Regions from separate parts of the Homo sapiens genome. Here all the other regions are linked to region 1. Evidence: promoter capture Hi-C in 16 types of primary human blood cells and fetal thymus (Javierre and others, 2016). All regions are on one chromosome and are shown on one strand. Each heading gives the region's core, a stretch centred on a gene start or on the middle of the fragment in contact. The rest is flanking DNA. Distances are from core to core; before and after follow the strand shown. Region 1 holds the start of LINC01948 (long intergenic non-protein coding RNA 1948). Region 2 holds the start of LOC105378977 (a long non-coding RNA gene). Region 3 has its middle 79 kb from the start of C5orf67. Region 4 has its middle 44 kb from the start of ANKRD55. Region 5 has its middle 94 kb from the start of MAP3K1. Region 6 has its middle 98 kb from the start of C5orf67. Region 7 has its middle 23 kb from the start of ANKRD55.

Region 1 (2,700 bases), core at 104-2,603:
TAGAGACCTACGGACTTGCCCTCCTGATACTTGCAGCTGGTGTTTAAGGACGTGCCTGCCTTGGGCGATGGGCGGGTAGAAACCTCACACACCAAAGCCCATCGAGCTAAACTCAAGGTTGCGAACCCCAACCCCGGTGGGAACACGGTCTGCAGACACGCTCCCTTAAGTCCCTGTCGCACACAATAAATTGCTTTCTGAATATTCCCTTTACAACTGCAAAAAATAGAAATGGCTGTAACTGTGCAGAGAAAGAAAAGAGAAGCTGGGATGAGCTCCATCAGGGGCCGAATCTGCTTCTCGCTGGTGGATACTGTGATAAGAAACCTAGATCTGAACGGCCTCACAATGGCCTATTTATCCGGCTCTTACGCACGGCCGGCAGCCCCGGCTGGGAATCACGGGGGTGGCAGCCGTCCCCGGAAAACGGCGGCATTCCGACACAGGAAAGCCCGCGGATCAACTGATCTGCAGACAACGCTTCTTCCTTCCTGGGAAGCGGCCACAAAGGCAGCCAGCTGACCCCGGCCCAGCGCGGCTCCCGGCCGAGGAGGACAGGGGCGGGGTGGGGAGGGGGGGAATCGTCGCCCGCCCCGCCCCCACCCCCCAAGTTTCCTTTGGCAAAAGCATCCCAGGCGTGGTTCAGGCAGAGTCCACGCCAGCGAGGCTGGGGCCGAAACTCTCCACGCCAGGAAGGCGGGGTAGGCGGACCCGCCGCCCCCAGCCCCGCGCGCCCGCCGCGCCCCCCACGGCCCCCACCAGCTGGCTCTTCCGGCCGGGGCGGCCTTGGCCTGGGGCTGGGGTTGACTTTGGTGGGGGGACAGGAAGGACTGGCACAGCGCCCGCGACTGTCCCCTGAGGAGGACCCTCCCTACGACTTTTGGTCAAAAGCAAAAAGAAACACAGACATGTGCGTCACCCCGGGAAGCGCGCGGGGGTTTCGCTCGCGTTTCAGGAGCCGACTTCGCATCCTCCCTCGGTAGGGGGGTCGGGGGTTCCTAAAATTTACCCCCCAACTTCACTTCTCTGGCGACAGAGCACCTTAACAGTTCATTTCCCTCTCGCTCTCAAGTGAAAACATCTTATTTTTGTGTTAAAATGTATAAAGACACCATGAGAATTGGCAGGAGGTCAAACCGTAGATTCTGAGATGCTCCGGTCGCTCCCCAGGAAGCGCTGTTTTCGGAAGTGTTGACCCAGCAGCTGGTCCCTGCTGCTCTAATGACACGATGTGTGCTTTCACTTTTTCACTCCCAAAACGACGTGGTTTGGAGTCTTGAGAGCCTTGGAAATCGCTGCCCGTGGAGGGAAAGGTCTGGAGAGGCCAGGCCAGGAGAGCAGACATGCTGCAAGAAGCGGAGGCAGCCCTGTGAACTCGCCTGGCTCCGCAGGGAGGGGCGAGGCTGTCCAGGTCGCAGGTGGAGCTGGCCAGCTGCGAGCCAGGATGTCCTTGCTCTTTCCAAATTATACACAGTTTCCACAAGGAAAAAAGAGAGGGGTAGGGGGTCCAGGCAGATCTTCAGCTGTTTGTATACTCTGCACCAGGAGGCGCTATCATCAGCCCGGACCCCTACTCCACAGGACTGAGGAGACCACAATTCTTCCCTCCAGGCAGAATCGTGGACCCAATATTCCCGTCTCCCCGAATTCTCTTAACTCAGTATACTGCCATTAACAGCATAGTCAGCCTTCTGGACTTGAACTCCAGAAGGAATTTTGTCTCATTTAGTGCCTGCAGGGGAGCAGGATGAGATAGTACCTCTTGTACCGGCACAAGGTCTCTGAGTTGACTCTTACATAAACATTGCGCTGTTTCTAGGGACGGCATCATTTCTTGACCTAGAGAAACAAAGATATTGTGGGAAGGACCCCTGATGCTCAGTGGCAGTTTGGAGACCTGGCATTAGCCTTACTCAGTAAGGCTTCCTGATCTAGCAGGACTGATCCAGTCAGCTTTGATGATCCCCTAGCCTGGTACTGGGATTCTTCCAAACACCCATGAGATCACCCACATCTCACAGGGGCTGGTAGTGTTCCAGCAGAGAAAGGTGAGGGTAGCAAGCAGTAGTCACTTTGGGCCTGAAATGAACATCTTGGGGTTTTTATATCTGCCCACCCACTATGGGACATTATTGTCCCTTCCTCTTTGCTACAGTGTTTCCAGAAAATGAGAAGTAGCATCTTCTTAGAAATAGATTGGGTACCCTGTCTTAGACCTAGTTCCTTTTTTTTTGTTTTTTTGAGACGCTGTCTCACTCTGTCTCCCAGGCTGGAGTACAGTGGTGCGATCTGGGCTCACTGCAACCTCCGCCTTGGGGGTTCAAGTAATTCTCCTGCCTCAGCCTCCTGAGTAGCTGGGAATCCAGGTGTGTGCCACCACACTCGGCTAATTTTTGTATTTTTAATAGAGACAGGGTTTCACCATATTGGCCAGGCTACCCTTGAACTCCTGACCTCAAGTGATTCGCCTGCCCCAGCCTCCCAAAGAGCTGGGCAGTTACTTTTATTATAGTTCTAGATAACATAGAAAAGAACATGGAAAGCAGCTATGCAAGCAAAACACAAACACAAACAACCCTGTTAAAAAGTGGGCAAAAGACATGAACAGACACTTCTCAAAAGAAGACATGCAAGCAGCCAACAAATGTGAAAAGATGCTCAGCATTGCTGATTATCAGAGAAATGCAAATCAAAACCACG
Region 2 (2,700 bases), core at 15-2,514, 190 kb before region 1:
TCCCCATGCAGAATAACCCCAAATTTTATTTTCAGGGGCTGCTGCATGGTCTTAAAAGATGCTTCTGAAGCGTTTATTCTTGGTTTTACTCTTGCAATTCTTCCTTGTTTCAATTCAGAGCACAGCAGAAAATGTATTCCAACCCACATTTGTGGAAGAGAAAGGAGTTGGGCTCCAGATGTTACATCTCTCCTTGAAACATAGCCTAGCCACTCCTACCTGGACATTTAGAGCTTCCCATAATGGGTCCCAAGTCAACTTCTAGCCAGCAGTGCTGTCATTTCTGTGTGTGCTCCTAGTCCCTAACAGACACCTTACCTAGCCAAGAGAACTGACTTGTGTTGGTCCCAGGTAGCTGCGTGTGGTCTGTGTGGATGAATCATAGATAAGCTTATTTTGTATTTTCCAACCAGATGTCATGGAGCTACTTAGCAGATACTGAATTACGACTCCCTAGAATAGTGTTGAACATTGACAACAGGGGTGATCCTGGTAAGGTCTGCCATCTCCATGAGGGTCTTTGTGTCCAGGCTAGGAGGCCCTTCCCTCATTTTGCCATGGATGTGGATGCAGTTGGGCCCTCTCTCCCCATGCCGAGGAGACCATTTGGGTTGGAGGAGTGCTGATGGTGGTGCCTCAAGCTCGGTTCCTGCTGCAAGTCCAGTGGTCCTGCCCCATTGAGCTGTACCTCACGCAACAGGCCATTTACTGGAAGGATATGGAAAGAAAGGATGAGGATAGAAAAACAATGCTCTCTGGTAGCATGCACTGTGAATGGGTTTGAGTCACTAGGAGATCCCACCTTCCCATCTACTTTATCTCAAGTATCATCTTATACTAGTGAGAGGTGACACTGTGCTGGCAGTCCTCACAGCCCTCGCTCACTCTCGGCGCCTCCTCTGCCTGGGCTCCCACTTTGGCGGCACTTGAGGAGCCCTTCAGCTCACTGCTGCACTGTGGGAGCCCCTTTCTGGGCTGGCCAAGGCCGGAGCCGGCTCCCTCAGCTTGCAGGGAGGTGTGGAGGGAGAGGTGCGAGCGGGAACCGGGGCTGCGTGCCGCACTTGCGGGCCAGCTGGAGTTCCGGTTGGGCGTGGCACTCGGAGCAGCCGGCCCCGGGCAATGAGGGGCTTAGCACCCGGGCCAGCTGCTGCGGAGGGTGTACTGGGTCCCCCAGCAGTGCCAGCCCACCGGCGCTGTGCTCAATTTTTCACCGGGCCTTAGCTGCCTTCCCACGAGGCAGGGCTCAGGACCTGCAGCCCTCCATGCCTGAGCCTCCCACTCCCTCCATGGGCTCCTGTGCAGCCCGAGCCTCCCCGACTAGCACGGCTCCCTGCTCCATGGCACCCACTCCCATCGACCACCCAAGGGCTGAGGAGTGCAGGTGCACGGCACGGGACTGGCAGGCAGCTCCACCTGCAGCCCCTGTGAGGGATCCACTGGGTGAAGCCAGCTGGGCTCCTGAGTCTGGTGGGGACATGGAGAACCTTTATGTCTAGCTTCAGGGATTGTAAATACACCAATCAGCACCCTGTGTCTAGCTCAGGGTTTGTGAATGCACCAATGGACACCCTGTATCTAGCTACTCTGGTGGGACCTTGGAGAACCTTTATGTCTAGCTCAGGGATTGTAAATACACCACTCTGCACTCTGTATCTAGCTCAAGGTTTGTAAACACACCAATCAGCACCCTGTGTCTAGCTCAGGGTTTGTGAATGCACCAATCCACACTCTGTTTCTAGCTACTCTGATGGGGCCTTGGAGAACCTTTATGTCTAGCTCAGGGATTGTAAATACACGAATCGGCACTCTGTATCTAGCTCAAGGTTTGTAAATACACCAATCAGCACCCTGTGTCTAGCTCAGGGTTTGTGAATGCACCAATCGACACTCTGTATGTAGCTACTCTGGTGGGGCCTTGGAGAACCTTTGTGTTGACACTCTATCTAGCTAATCTGGTGGGGACGGTGGAGAACCTTTGTGTCTAGCTCAGGGATTGTAAACGCACCAATCAGCGCCCTGTCAAAACAGACCACTTGGCTCTACCAATCAGCAGGATGTGGGTGGGGCCAGATAAGAGAATAAAAGCAGGCCACCCAAGCCAGCAGTGGCAACCCGCTCGGGTCACCTTCGACACCGTGGAAGCTTTGTTCTTTCGTCCTTTGCAATAAATCTTGCTACTGCTCACTCTTTGGGTCCACACTGCTTTTATGAGCTGTAACACTCACCTCGAAGGTCTGCAGCTTCACTCCTGAGCCAGTGAGACCACGAACCCCCTAGAAGGAAAAAACTCCGAACACATCCAAACATCAGAAGGAACAAACTCCAGACGTGCCACTTTAAGAGCTGTAACACTCACCGCGAGGGTCCGTGGCTTCATTCTTGAAGTCAGTGAGACCAAGAACCCACCAATTTCGGACACACTAGGCTCTGACAAGCAACTCTGCAAAGCAGGTAAGGCTTTTCTCCCCACAAAAGGAAAACTGGGCACTGGCCATGGGACCCAAGGATATATCTGCACTGTCTATACTTTTTAGGTTTTTCTTTCATTTTGTTTTGTTTGAAATAGTTTCACTCTGTTGCCCAGGCTGAAGTGCAGTGGTGCAATCTTGGCTCGCTGCAACCTCCACCTCCTGGATTCAAGTGTTTCTTGTGCCTCAGTCTCCTGAGTAGCGGGATTACAGGGGTGTGCCACCACACCCA
Region 3 (2,700 bases), core at 145-2,644, 200 kb after region 1:
TTCCTTGATCTTGGACTTTGCAGCCTCCAGAACTGTATGCAATACATTTCTGTTTACAGATTACTGAGTCTAAGGTATTTTGTTACAGCAGCTCAAATGGACTAAGAAAAGTGGCTTCTTCAAGAACATGTGCCTGATAAAGTTGATGAAATCAGGATTCAAACCTAGGCTGTCTGATACAGGCCCACAGGCTTAACCACTACACCACACTGCCTTTCTCCATGTATGCCACAAGGACTTAATATGAGTGGCTTACAAGGACTCATATTAAGTGACTTCCCAGTCAACTCTTTGTGCTCACATCACATCTCCTCAGCCCACCTCTGATTTCAGCCCTGGTTTTGGCATTGAGTTCTAGAAATCTCAGGTCATTTTCTTGCTTTCTGCCTCAGGACCTCCTGTGAAGGTGTGGGAGCCCAGGCAGGCCACTTTCAAGTCAGCTTGGAAATCCTCAAGCAATGAGGCGTGAGAACTGTGAAGAAGTGCCCCAGGCTCCAGCATAACAAAGGACAATCTGGAGACTTTCCATGCACTTCTTAGAACGCCAGGGTAACCATGCTCCCGTTGTCCACAGCATCAGCCTTGATAACATACCCTAATATTTTCCTTTCTGCCACATTCTCTCCATCCCCTCATTCCTGCTTCTTGGGTTCAACTCCTAAATAAACTACCTGCACGTGAGATCTACTGTCGGGCTTGCTTTTGGGGAACCAAACTTAGACATCCTGCCTTTGCAGCTTGATGAACCACACTGTTTCTTGGGGCTCCTTCCTAATCTGTTATTCAGATTTTTACATCCTACACAAATTTTCAGCAACCTGCCCTGAATGAAGTCCATCAGGGCATACATTCCAGAAGGAGCTACTGCCAGTACATGAGACAATTCTCTTGTGTTAAAATTTACCTAAAGGTTCCGGGCTGTGAGTTGCTGAATCTGCATTTCCACCTAGTTTTCCCAGAAGTGGCTGTTCATCCAGGAAGACTTGTTCTGCTCACTAGTCTATACGGAAGGCTTGGCATAGTTCTGTACTCAGTTATCCAGAAAGACAGTTCTGGTCCTCATATAATCGTGTGGATGTGTTTAGAGATTCTGTAAGGTGAAAAAGCAATCTGCCAGTGCATTAATTTGGAGAAACTATGTATTTCTATTTTAAAACTGGAAAATTGCTTTTTAAAATTTGTCATTTCTCCAAATATTTTATTTTTCACTATGCTAAGTGATCCAAATGCATTGTACATTCCCTATGCTGTAGGTACAATTATTGTGCCCTCTAACCACTATAGATGCACAATAAACTCAGAGTAATAAATTAACATTCAAGACAAATCATTAAATTCATGTTCACAATTCCCCCCATAAAGAAAGACTGTAAGCATCTCTTTAAAGGTATGTGACAGTAAGGTTATTTTGGCTTAAGACCAATTTTCAGTGCACAGATCAAGAATGTTACTTATTCTTTTATTTGTTTGTGTTTTAATTGTGGTGAAATATACATAGAATTAATCATGTTAGCCATTTTCACTGTTCAGTTCAATAGTGTTAAGTATATTTGCACTGTTGTACAATGAGTCTCCAGAACCTTTTCATCTTGCAAAACTAAAATTTTCTATCCATTAAACAACTCCTTGTTTCTCCCTTCCCCAGCCCTTGGCAGCCACCTTCTACCTTCTATTTTTATGACTTCACATACTCTAGATATCTCATAGAAGTGAAGTCATACAGTATTTGTCCTTCTGTGACTGGCTTGTTTCACTTAGCATAATGTCCTTGAAGTTCATCCATGTAGTAACTTCCTTTTTAAGGCTGAATAGTATTCTACTCATGCAAATACCACATTTTGTCTATTCATTCATCCATCCGTATACACTTTGTGTGGCTTCTACTTCTTGACTATTGTGAATAGCTCTGCTATGAACATGGGTGCACCAGCAAGTTGCTGTTAATGAAAATGATTCATTCTGTAGTGTTCCTTCCAGCTCACAGTCTTACATTCCTGTTATCAAGAAAAGCTAACTTAAAGTCCTTCTTACTCAGTTATCCACATTTGGAATTAGCTTAACCTGTTGGCCTAACAGTCATGACCCAGTGTAACCACTCATGTCTCAGCACAGATGACAAAACGCAACTTGGCTAGGAGGAAATAGGCTCAGTGGAGGGCTGGCCTTGGAGAACTCATCTTAACAAAGTGGAGACAAAGTTATTTTGGGAGGTCATGTAAGCAGAGTGATTATCATCATGGGGTCTGGGATCAAAATCCCAGCTCCAGCCTTCACTAGCTGTGTGACCTTGAGAAAGTTACTTAACCTCCCTAAACCTCAGTTCCTAATCTCTAAACAGAGGCAGTGATCATAATAGTATGGACATCTAGGAACATGGTGAGGAGTAAATAAAATAATCCATGTTAAGAATTTAGTGTCTGGCATACAGTAAGCGCCCAACAACTGTTAGCCCATATTCTGTAGTTACAGGTCACTGTTCCAAACCCCTCAATTTACAGAGGAGGCTCAGCAAGTTGAAGGAACATTTACTCCTGCCTTCACACGTAGCCATATGCATATGCAGACACAAAGCCACAGAGCTCCGTGTGTGCAAAGACCCCCTGTTTGATTTTAAAACCCTTGTGATCAGGGCTTTACTATCTAGCTATGAAAGTTTGGTTTATCTCAAAACTTTGATTTAAAAAACACGTCAATTAACCT
Region 4 (2,700 bases), core at 23-2,522, 200 kb before region 1:
AATGAAATAATGCTGTCATAGTGTTCTGAGCCCACAGATGTAGACACAATGGCATGATTGTCATCGATGATCTCTTCCAAGTTTCCTACTGACATTGGGGTCCCCCTCAGATCATCCACTTTTGATCTTCCCTCCTCTTGCTTTTCTTCTAATAGTTTTATTTGTTCCTGATTTCTAATGAATTCTTCCACCATGAGAAGGTAGTCTTTAATTCTCTCTAACTTCAGTAATTTTAACCGACACTGAGTGTGAAGTGTCACCAGTGGCAGTTTACTGGCAACATCTTGTCCCTTTGTTTTTTCTTCTTTTTCCGCCACTCTAGTTGGTACAAGAGGTTAGTACTTATTTTTCTTGTCCTTTTCATCCTTCTTGCCACGTCTAGGACCATGACCATCACCCTGACTTTGACCCACCTTGTCTTGGCCACTTGAGCTGCCACTGCTGGAAGTTCCTCCACCTCAACTATCATTTCTAAGTTCCTAATTTTTGATGCGTATTTTCTCTTGGGGATACTCACACTGGAAGGCTACCAACTTATATGTTTTCAAGAGAATAAACAGGTACTACATAAATGAATGAAGTGGGCTTGGTGTAAGACACTGGGGAGGGTAAAATATACAGAATGTCAGCTCTTGATGGGTGTTAAGGAGAGAAGTAAAGCAGGGAAAGGTGTTGGGATATGTACCTGTGGGACAGAGTAGGTGTGATGGTCAGGTTCCTGTGTCAGCTTGGCTAGGCTATAGTACCCAATGCTTAATCAAATACTAACCTAGGTGCTGCTGTGAAGGTATTTGGGGATGTGATGAACATTCACAAATAGTAGACTATAAGTAAAGCAGATTATCTTTCATAATGTGGTTGGGCCTCACCTCATCCCTTGAAGGCCTTAAGAGCAAAAATTGAGGTTTCCCAGAGAAGAAGAAATTCTGCCCTAAGACTAAAGCATCAACTCCCACCTATTCCAGCTGCTGGCCTTCCCTGCAGGCTTCAGACTTGCCAGGCTCCACAATCCCATGAGCCAATTCCTTGAAACAGATCTGAGTGTGTATGCATGTACATATTCACATATATGTACACACACACACACATACACACATTCACATCCTATTGGTGCTGTTTCTCTGGGAAATCCTGACTGATCCAGGCTCAATTTTGGATTCAGAAGCTTTTGGACATTCAGTTTGCTAATTTCAAGTCTTTGCTCAAGTGTCACATTCTCAGAGATGCCAGTCCAATCATTCTATTGAATATGAAAAATTAATCATCTTCCCAATCTGTATTCCTGATCCCCTGACCCCACTCTATTTCTTCCCACAGCAATGTAATTTTTCACATAACTGTGTTACTATTTGTGTTTATTTTCTATCACTCCTAGTATATAAGCTTCATGATAGCAGGTGTCATAGGATGACTTCCCTGGGAACAAAACTCTGAGCTGGAGATTTGTGTGCAAGGAGGGTTATGGCGGTGGGTGCTCTCAGGCACAGCAGCCACAGGGTGTGAAGGAAGCAAGATTGGGCACAGAGAAGACTTGAACTGTGATTCAGTTGCAACAGAGGTCTCCACTGATTCCCAGGGGAGCCCTGAAGCTGGGGAAGTGCTTCAGGGATGTCCTGAATTGAGACAAAGGGGGCGGGCCCCAAATCAGCCAGTCATTGGATGCAGAGTGTCCCCAGGAAGGGGACACAGCTCCCTTTGGCCAAGGGCAATTCATAGGGAGGACTCAATGTGGGTCATCAGCCAGTAACAATCCTGGCAGCTGGGGAATGAGCAGAGTGACCCTGAACAAGGATCTGGGCAGTGCACCTGGCAGGCAGCAGCCATCTTTATTTCTCTATTGCTGCATCCTCAGTTCCCAGGACAGGGCCAGGATTGTTGAATGGATGGGTGGGTGGATGAATGAATGAATGAATGAATGAATTGTTTTCAGAAAGGTCGGCATGTACAAACAGGATATGGCCACTGCTCTCAGTTGATGGGCAGAATGACAAGAGGATAAAAATAGAAAATAGGCTAATATGATCACAAAAACCATTAAGGCAGTAAAAAACAAAGAATGATAAATGAGAGAATAGAGGCTTAGGGCTATTCGAGGGAAGGGCAGTAAATACATTTATATGACAGGGCTTAGGGCTATTCGAGGGAGGAGCACTAAATACATTTATATGACAGAGTTTCCATGTCTTACACACAGATCCTGAGCAGTTGTAGGCCCAGGGTGTGCTGTTACTGGCCTGAGCAGGACCCAGGGTTAAAGAAAGCATCCTGCGAACACAAGGAACAACTGGCTCCCGTGACAGAACTTTTAACCAGCCTTTTCTCAAATCTGTTGACTTAACGCAGGCCAGGGAATTCTTTGAAAGGCAACATGGCTATAAATCAGCAAGTCCTGCGAACGTGCATTCCAGGGTCTTGGAGGAAAGGGCTGCACACAAAAGCACCTCTTCTAAGTCTTCAGGAATGCTGTGGTGAGTGGCCCTGGAGGTCTCGGGGTTAGACTCTGGGGCTGGGAATGAAAAGCATCCAGGAAAGGGGAGAAGGGAAGCCCCAGCAGAGCAGCGCAGCTTGCTTCTAAGGACAGCAATGGACACCTAACACCCGGAGTGGTGCCTAGCAGATTCTAGTCACTCAATGAATGTCTGCTGAGTGACTGAAGAATAGTCAGGGACCTTGATTCTGGCCCTAGTTCTGTCATTCACT
Region 5 (2,700 bases), core at 101-2,600, 240 kb after region 1:
TGTAAACTTAACAGGATTTTTTTTTTCTCTTTCAGGATCACCCAATTGTAAATTTCATAGCTTCTTTCTTTTCCCTTTAGCTGTTTATATCAGTTTTTCAAATGGTTCATATAAAAAGTTTATATACTCTAAAGCCTTCCAATAAATCTAAGTTGTATACACTGTGATCTCTAGAAAAGTTACCTTTTCTATGGTAATTAACTTAGAGCTGTATTGTCTTATTTTAATAAATCATTTAACACTTGATATTCTCATTGACAAATAATATTCATTAAAAAAATTCCTAAGCAGAAGAGATGGATTAGAAGTTCAGACAATAATTGATATCTTAATAAAGATTCCTTCATATTTAGCAGATTACATTTTATCGCTCAGTTTAGAAATTGGCATCCCAAATGTTGTAGAAACAAAAATATGAGTATTCTTGGGATAGTCTTATTTTGAAAGCGTAAGAAAACCCTTGACAATTGTACACAAAAGATCCAGACTCTCAGCAGTGACTTGGGAGGAGGATGCAGTTCCTAACAGCAGCAAGGCAGCAAAAAAAAAAAAAAAGGCACCTCACCTACTTATAAAGGAAAAATTATTTGGACCTATTCTTGTGCTCAATTGTCCCCTCAGCATAGAATATATGCAACTGCTTCATTAGCACCACCATCAATTAGAAGTTCTTTGCAGTCTAAACATATTGGACAACTTTATTTCTGAAGGGAAGCAGTGTCCAGTTCCCCAGGCTATTGCAATGCCAAATCCCAGAAGCAAAACAAGATTTTCTTCATTGCTCTAATGGGACGCAAGATGTTCCTGAGGTTTAAAGTTTGACTTTTACAGGCACTTTCCTTTTGCCTTCAGAACTATTTTATACTTACGTGGTATGGTCCTTCAATTTCCACAGGCAAATTTATTTCCTAAAACAGAAGTCAAAAGTCAAAGAAGACTAAAAGACTTCAGTCCAGAGACTTCTGAAGACCTTGGATTTCATTTATATTTTTTGTGCCTTGGGTAATTATTTATGTGGCTTATGTTATTTTGGATAAAGAGGACTTGCTCTTAAAATTAGATGAATGGAAAAACATGACAAGTCAATGCATTTATAGAATACTGGCATGGAATATGCACTATTGCTTCACTTTCACTATTTAATCACTAATAATTAGATCTTGAAATAAGTAGATGTATATTAGTTATATAACCAAACCTTTACCTTTCATCAGTGTTTATTTACAAGGCACGATTATTTTCAATAGATATAGTTTTTCTTTCTAAAGTGTTTTTTGTTGTTGTTGTTGTTTTGAGATGGAGTCTCGCTCTGTCACCAGGCTGGAGTGCAGTGGTGCGATCTCGGCTCACTGCGACCCCTGCCTCCCAGGTTCAAGCAATTCCCCTGCCTCAGCCTCCCCAGTAGCTGGGACTATAGGCGTGCACCACTACGCCCAGCTAATTGTTTGCATTTTAGTAGAGATGGGGTTTCACCATGTTGGCCAGGATGGTCTTAATCGCCTGACCTCATGATCGGCCTGCCTCGGCCTCCCAAAGTGCTGGGATTATAGGCGTGAGCCACCACTCCCAGCCTCTAAAGTTTTATGTAATATTTTGCCCCTGAACCTGTTCTCTTTTTTATTATTCTGTTCCATTATTATGATTTTCCCTTATTTTCTTACTTTAAACATATTTATTTTGTAGCATTCTACATTTCATATTGCCTAAGTTTTGCGATATAAACTTTTCTGCTTTTTGTTCTATCATTTTGTTCTGTGGCATGGGGTGGGGTGTATTTTGTATGTTGGGAATTGTAAAAAAGGACATAGAGAGTGATTTTGAGACTTCATCTAAAAGAAGCCCCCATGTTTTCATCAGGCCATAGTCAGTTTCTACATTAATTTCTCAGCTTGGGATTCCCCAACATACCCGTAGGGTAAATTTGGATTCCACACCCATGCATGGCACACTTGTGAAGTTTCCATTTATCATGGGAAGTATTTTTTCCATCGAAACCCAGGGTATTCTTGCATTTCCTGAGAGCTTCCCTGGGCCAGTGGGCGGTTTTCAAATTTCTCTTTTACTGAAGGAGCAGGCATTCATGACTCTGGGTTTTGCATTTATGGAAGTAAATACAGTAGGAGAATGATAAATAAACCATGTTATATTATACAGGGATTAAAAAGTAATAATGACTTCCAAGACATAGTTTGAAGTTGCAGCATGATACATATAGTGTGATACATACCCACATATATATACATATAAGAAGCAGTACCAAATATTTTTATAGGTGCATATATACGTATATGAGAACAGAGAAAAGGTATGGATAGATACATGCTATAGTAGTAGTACTAGAGGTTGAGCTTAGAATTGGAACTCAGGTCAAGAAATGAGAAGAGGCTATAGCTTTATGGGTTGCATCTAATTTAGTCAATGAAAATGTAGATGTATATTAGTTATATAACTAAAAATCAATAGTTATATTTAATTATATTTAAACAGAGACCACGTAACTGAATTCACAATAGCTTCTTTTTCACCTTATGTAATTTCTCAATCAACAGATACTAAAAAGTCATGTTAATTCATGAAAATTGTTGAGGCACAACGGGCCTCACAATGACATTCCTGATTATCTCTGTTCTTAGCCACGTGCCTGTTTATGTAATTAATGGCTATGTTCGTGAAGCTAGAAAAGTAATCTGGCATTATTAT
Region 6 (2,700 bases), core at 32-2,531, 220 kb after region 1:
CTAGTTTTTTGTCCATCTCTAGTAGAGATACTCTTCTTTCCGACTTTCCCCTAAAGGGCTATATTTATATTGCACCTGATATTTTCCCCAACCTCTGAGTAGGAAGATGAACCTGGCAAGCATCTTTCTTCAAATCATTTATCATGCTTGCAAATGGCTGGCATGAGTCCACATTATTTCCTCCGCATTCCAATGCATGTTTTAAAGGCATCTTTTAATGTACCATTTAGGAAAGAGCTCCATACATCAAGAAACAAAAAACAGCCAAGGAATCTAATATTCTGTCCAAGACCTGTGAAGGAGATGCTGATATTGGTTCATTTGAATCAAGCCTTCTAGAAATGAATCTGGATATGAGTTAGTAGTGGATTTAAAAAAAGGAGTGTGGCATTGTCCTTCTGGGGCCTATTTCAAGAGAGGGGAAAAAAAAGACTTCATCTGTAAGCCATTTGAGAAAAAAACTGATGGGGCAGTTCTCTCCAAATGCTTTGCTTCGGCCTCTAACAAGAGAAAAGCTGCCACTTCCCTCCCATCTCTTTTTCCATCTTCTAATTCATGTCCTTTAAAAAACTTGATTGTGTAAATCACTACAGTCCCCACTTGCTCAGTTGTCCTAGTTTAGGCTGTCATTATTGTTCTCCCTTGCTGGAATGGCCTCCTAATTCATCTGCCCACCTGTGCTTTCTTCCCACCACAGTCTACCCTTCCCACTGCCCCAGAGAAAACTTGGTAAAGGACAGATCTGGTCATGTCCCTCTTGTGATTTAAAAGTCTCAGAGGCTCCCACTGCCTGCAGGGGAAAGTCCACACACACTAGCATAACACACCAAGTCCTTCCTGTTCCACCCCGCTCACCTTTCTCCCTCATCTCAGGAGCTCTGTGCCCCATGCCGTCCTGGCCCAGCCTCAGTAGATTGCTCATCTGCTCTCCCTTTGGTGCCCTACCCTCTTGCCTGTTGGCCTCTCAGAGTGAAAACCCTTTTCCTTTTCTCTGCTGGTTTGACTTCTACTCAACCTCCAGGATTTAGCTCATATGTCTCCTTCTCTCAAGGTTTCCCCAGCTCCACTCAGCATACCTCCAATATATTTCTAATTTAGCAGGTATATTTTAATAATTTTACTTTACCATCTCTACTCAGCCCCACCAGCTCTCAGAGGATAAGGACTATGTTTTCATTATCTATAATGCCCCCCAGGGGCACTAACTCCTATGAACATCCAATCTGCCCTGCTTTGAAAAAAAAATCTCAAGGAAAGAAGCTGAGAGATGTTGCAGCAGGTGCTTGAGGTAGGCTCCTGGTGGCAAAACTGGATCTGTTCACCATAGCTGCAGCTGAAATCAGGTGAGCAGAATGCATGTAGCCCGGGGCACAAAATATGTCTGCCACAGGCATGTTGATTTGAATAAGCATGGAAATGCAGGGTAGGAGGGCACGTCACAGGCCCCAGCCCAGCTGCCCATGCAGCATAGGAATGCTTTTACAGATTGCTTCAATGGGGAGCTTCCACTGTTCTCCCTCCTTTGACATGAGCAAATGATATCACCAGACAGCTTGTTGATGGGCATTTTTGCCAAACATAATTAATCTGATTTTAATGATAATAATAGTAACATTATCAAGTGCTTATTTTATGCCAAGTAGTGTCCTAAGAGCTTTGCATGTACAGTTTGATTTTCATAAGCACCATATGTGGTAAATACATTCATTAATTATACACCCATTTTCTAGGTAGAGTGTAGCAGATGCTGCCTGTGCCCTATCCACCTCCCCTCAAGCCTCCCCATTTTAGTGCAGGCAAGCAGAACTCCCCAATGCCAGCACCTGCAGCTCTTGGCCAGAGATCATTCTCCAGTACAAAAGCCCACTTTCCTGCAGTATGTTTGGTCAGAAGTACCAGAGAATTAACACCTCCTAGAAGCATTCCTCAATCAATGACTGAGAGGATTGCTTCTCAAGTGGGTTGGCTCTGAGTTATGTGGTCTACACTGGCTCCCAGAGTTCCCTAGAGGGGTTAAGCTCTGGTTTGTCTGCAATTGTAACACGCTTGATAATTCACCTGTTATTGGCTGCCTTACCTCCCCCTGCTCACTTTCCCACTCTCTTACCAGTGTTTCCTGGAATACCTTCTAGTATTTGCATTTTGAAACCTGATCTCTAGGTCTACTTCTGGAGGAACCTAACAAAGATAATCGGGCCAAGGCACTAAGAAGATCCAGGACTTGCCCGTGATGATTTCTCACTCTAGGGCCCACACTCTTATCCACTACCCCGTACTGTTAACTCATCCAGGTTTTCCCGCTGTAAAAACAAACAGCCGTCATTTCCTTCCTCTATGCCCAAATATGTGAAGACAGCCAAAGACTCTCCAATTCCTTCTGCCATGACTGTTACAAACATGGTTTCCATACCAATCATCCTCTCGTGAGGCAACCTCTCCCCTGCACAAATTCTCCACTTAAAATTAAACACATGAATTTTTTTCTGCTTTTTACCTTACATATTTCATCTATCTGCTTTTTATTCCTGTGCCATTATAGAAGTACAGAATTCAAAATATGGTATGGTAGACTATTCAATTTTAATCCTGTTTTAATACAAAAAATAAAGTTCCTGGAACTAGTTCTATGTTCAAAATAGCATCCATGCAAACAAAATGTTGAATTGGTTACAATGAATCTTACTAATATAAGTAATGCTT
Region 7 (2,700 bases), core at 162-2,661, 230 kb before region 1:
CTGAACCTGTGCTTGTAGCCATTATGCTAGATTGCAAAAATGGTCACAATTCTCAACCCCTGCAGCCTTATTTTTCCAGTTTCTTTGTAAGAAAGCAATTGCAAAACCACAGCTTTGAATATGAGAATGTGAATTCAGATGGATTTCAACAATTGTGAGCAGCCCTGTTTAATTCCAAGAGTAAGGTTTCTGTTATGACTTTTCACTTTTTGCACTAGGCTGGCAAGAGTGACTTAAATAACTGCAATAGAGAATCAAAATCCGTTCACTGCAAGATGAAAAACCTTAGCAGAAACCCCATTCCCCAAATTAAACAAGGCTGTTTATAATAATTGACACTTATTCTAATTCACTTTCTGGTATTCAGAGCTGTGGCTTTGTAATTGCTTTTTCAAGGGGAGATATTGGCATTTCTAGACTACAAAGCAGCACATGGTATCAAGATGTGTTTTGTTTCTCATGAATAATGATGCTGAACACCTTTCTCATTTGCATATTGATCATTTTCATATCCTCTTTTGTGGAGTGCTTGTTCAGGATTCTGGCTCAACATTAAAAATTGTGTTGTATATCTTTTTCTTATCAATTTATAGAACTTTTATACAAGAATATAGTCTAGATATAAATTCTTTGCCATATGTGTGTGTGCATGCAAATGTCTGAATAACAAATATTTTATACCAGTCTGAGGTTTGCTTTTTCCATTCTCTTAACCATGTCATTCATTGAACAGAATTTCTTTATTTTAATTAAATCCAATTTATCAGTATTTCCATGTGTTCTGTCTAAGAAACTATGGCCTAACCTGAGGTCCCTGAACATATTTACTGTGTTTTCTTCTAGAATTTTTATTGTTTTACTTTTCGTCTTTAGATATATGATCTACCTTGAATTAATTTTTGTGTATAATGTGAGGTAAGGGACAAGAGTCTTTTTTTCCCATATGAATATACACTTGAACCACCACCATTTATTGAAAAGATAATTCTTTCTCCACTGAGTTTCTGTGATGCCTTTATCATAAATCAGATTTATCATAAATCCTATGGATGTGGGTCTGTTTCTGAAGTCTAATTTATTCCATGATCTGTTGTCTTTTCTTGTTCCAGTACCATACTGTTTTAATTTCTCTAGCTTTGATATCAGGTTTTGTCTTTTTTCTTCAGTATTGCCTTAGCTATTCAGAGTTCTTTTTATTTCCATATCAATTTTACAAATAGCTTATCAATTTCTACCAAAAAAATTGATAGCATTTTTATTGGGATTGCATTGAATTTATATATCCATTTGGAATGACTTGATATCTTAAGACTGTTGCATCTTTGAATTCCATGTTCATGATATTACCTGTCATTTACTTAGATCTTCTTTTACTTCTCTCAGCAACTATCTGTAGTTTTCATCGTAGAGATCTTATACAACTTCTATCAGATTTATTCTACATAATTGATGTTTTTGGTGCTTTAAAAATTTTACCAATTGTTTGTCTCTTTTTAAAAATAGATTCATTTCCCCAATGAAATTCTCCAACCTTTCTTCCATTTTGTCTATCATTTTCTCCATTCTCTTGACCATATTAATCACAGTTATTTTAAACTCCCTGTCAGTTATTGTTAACATCTGATTCACCTATAAATCTATTTACTTTAAATAAATTTCTACTTGGATTTCCATAATTTGGTTCAAAGCCTGGACGGTTCAAAGCCTGGAACATTCGCCAAGGTTTTTCTATTTTGGAAAGGTTTTAATTATGACCTTTGCCTCCCTAGTACTGAAATCTCTGATCAGATCTTCAGCTATCCTCCTTCCCTCCCTCCCTGCCTCCCTTCCTTCATTCCTTCCTTCCTGTCTCCCTCCTTCCCTTCCTTCTCTCTTTCTTTCTTTCTCTTTCTTTCTTTATCTTTCTTTCTTTCTTTCTCTTTCTTTCTTCTTTCTTTCCTTTCTTTTCTCTTTCTCTCCTTTCTTTCTTTTCTCTCTCTCCTCCCCTCCCTCTCTCCCTCCCTTCTTTCCTTCCTTCTTTTCCTCTCTCCCTCCTCCCTCCCTTCCTCCCCCCTCTCTTTCTTTGTGTCTTTCTCTCCTTCTATTTCTTTATTTCTTGTTTCATATTTTGTGTGCCAGCTTAGGAACCCATAAACTTTAGGGAAATAAGTTTGCAGAATTGTAGGCACCTTTGTTGTTTCCCTTCTTCAGGACTTTCCTAAGTCCTGCCTGCTTTGGCAGCTCCAAATTCTTACTTCTACTTTCTCAGCCCACTAAGACTGTTGTATTTGTATATCCCTATTCTGCAGTGTGTACATGTCCTCAAGAGAATATCTGGAATGTATGTGGACCTCATGCCATAGGGTTTTCTTTAAATCTCGCTTGTGCTTGGTGTCTCCAGTGCCTTCAGGCAATTGCTTTATGTATTTTGTGCAACGTTTATAATTTTTTTTTAAATTTTTTTAGTATTTATTGATCATTCTTGGGTGTTTCTCGGAGAGGGGGATTTGGCAGGGTCATAGGACAATAGTGGAGGGAAGGTCAGCAGATAAACATGTGAACAAAGGTCTCTGGTTTTCCTAGGCAGAGGGCCCTGCCGCCTTCCGCAGTGTTTGTGTCCCTGGGTACTTGAGATTAGGGAGTGGTGATGACTCTTAACGAGCATGCTGCCTTCAAGCATCTGTTTAACAAAGCACATCTTGCACGGACCTTAATCCATTT

The links. The method cuts DNA at HindIII sites, captures the fragments that hold promoters and counts their contacts. A CHiCAGO score of 5 or more calls a contact.
Region 2: a fragment that was not itself captured here is called in contact with the fragment with the promoter of LINC01948 in region 1 in 2 of 17 cell types (total B cells and naive B cells); the score reaches 7.3 in total B cells.
Region 3: a fragment that was not itself captured here is called in contact with the fragment with the promoter of LINC01948 in region 1 in 3 of 17 cell types (total B cells, naive B cells and non-activated CD4 T cells); the score reaches 10.9 in total B cells.
Region 4: a contact is called between a fragment that was not itself captured here and the fragment with the promoter of LINC01948 in region 1, in 10 of 17 cell types (total B cells, naive B cells, M2 macrophages and 7 more). The highest score is 24.7, in total B cells.
Region 5: a contact is called between a fragment that was not itself captured here and the fragment with the promoter of LINC01948 in region 1, in 2 of 17 cell types (naive B cells and total B cells). The highest score is 7.0, in naive B cells.
Region 6: a contact is called between a fragment that was not itself captured here and the fragment with the promoter of LINC01948 in region 1, in 6 of 17 cell types (total B cells, naive B cells, non-activated CD4 T cells and 3 more). The highest score is 16.5, in total B cells.
Region 7: a contact is called between a fragment that was not itself captured here and the fragment with the promoter of LINC01948 in region 1, in 2 of 17 cell types (naive B cells and neutrophils). The highest score is 8.1, in naive B cells.

Annotation. Positions count from the first base shown.
Region 1 is chr5:56,480,416-56,483,115 of GRCh38, forward strand. It overlaps LINC01948 (long intergenic non-protein coding RNA 1948), which reads right to left and starts at 1,354. Exons shown (of 5, transcript NR_104664.1): 1 at 1,138-1,354. RefSeq lists an enhancer at 1,123-1,282. The HindIII fragment of the contact is 6,332 bases long and covers 1-2,700 here.
Region 2 is chr5:56,294,330-56,297,029 of GRCh38, forward strand. LOC105378977 (a long non-coding RNA gene) reads left to right here and starts at 2,107. Exons shown (of 3, transcript XR_948342.3): 1 at 2,107-2,451. The HindIII fragment of the contact is 1,752 bases long and covers 389-2,140 here.
Region 3 is chr5:56,683,903-56,686,602 of GRCh38, forward strand. No RefSeq gene overlaps it. Among named protein-coding and RNA genes, the nearest start is that of C5orf67, 79 kb to the left of the region's middle. The HindIII fragment of the contact is 3,405 bases long and covers 1-2,700 here.
Region 4 is chr5:56,276,216-56,278,915 of GRCh38, forward strand. It overlaps the pseudogene PSMC1P4. Among named protein-coding and RNA genes, the nearest start is that of ANKRD55, 44 kb to the left of the region's middle. The HindIII fragment of the contact is 218 bases long and covers 1,164-1,381 here.
Region 5 is chr5:56,720,496-56,723,195 of GRCh38, forward strand. No RefSeq gene overlaps it. Among named protein-coding and RNA genes, the nearest start is that of MAP3K1, 94 kb to the right of the region's middle. The HindIII fragment of the contact is 4,821 bases long and covers 1-2,700 here.
Region 6 is chr5:56,703,309-56,706,008 of GRCh38, forward strand. No RefSeq gene overlaps it. Among named protein-coding and RNA genes, the nearest start is that of C5orf67, 98 kb to the left of the region's middle. The HindIII fragment of the contact is 5,252 bases long and covers 1-2,700 here.
Region 7 is chr5:56,255,256-56,257,955 of GRCh38, forward strand. No RefSeq gene overlaps it. Among named protein-coding and RNA genes, the nearest start is that of ANKRD55, 23 kb to the left of the region's middle. RefSeq lists an enhancer at 2,364-2,700. The HindIII fragment of the contact is 8,279 bases long and covers 1-2,700 here.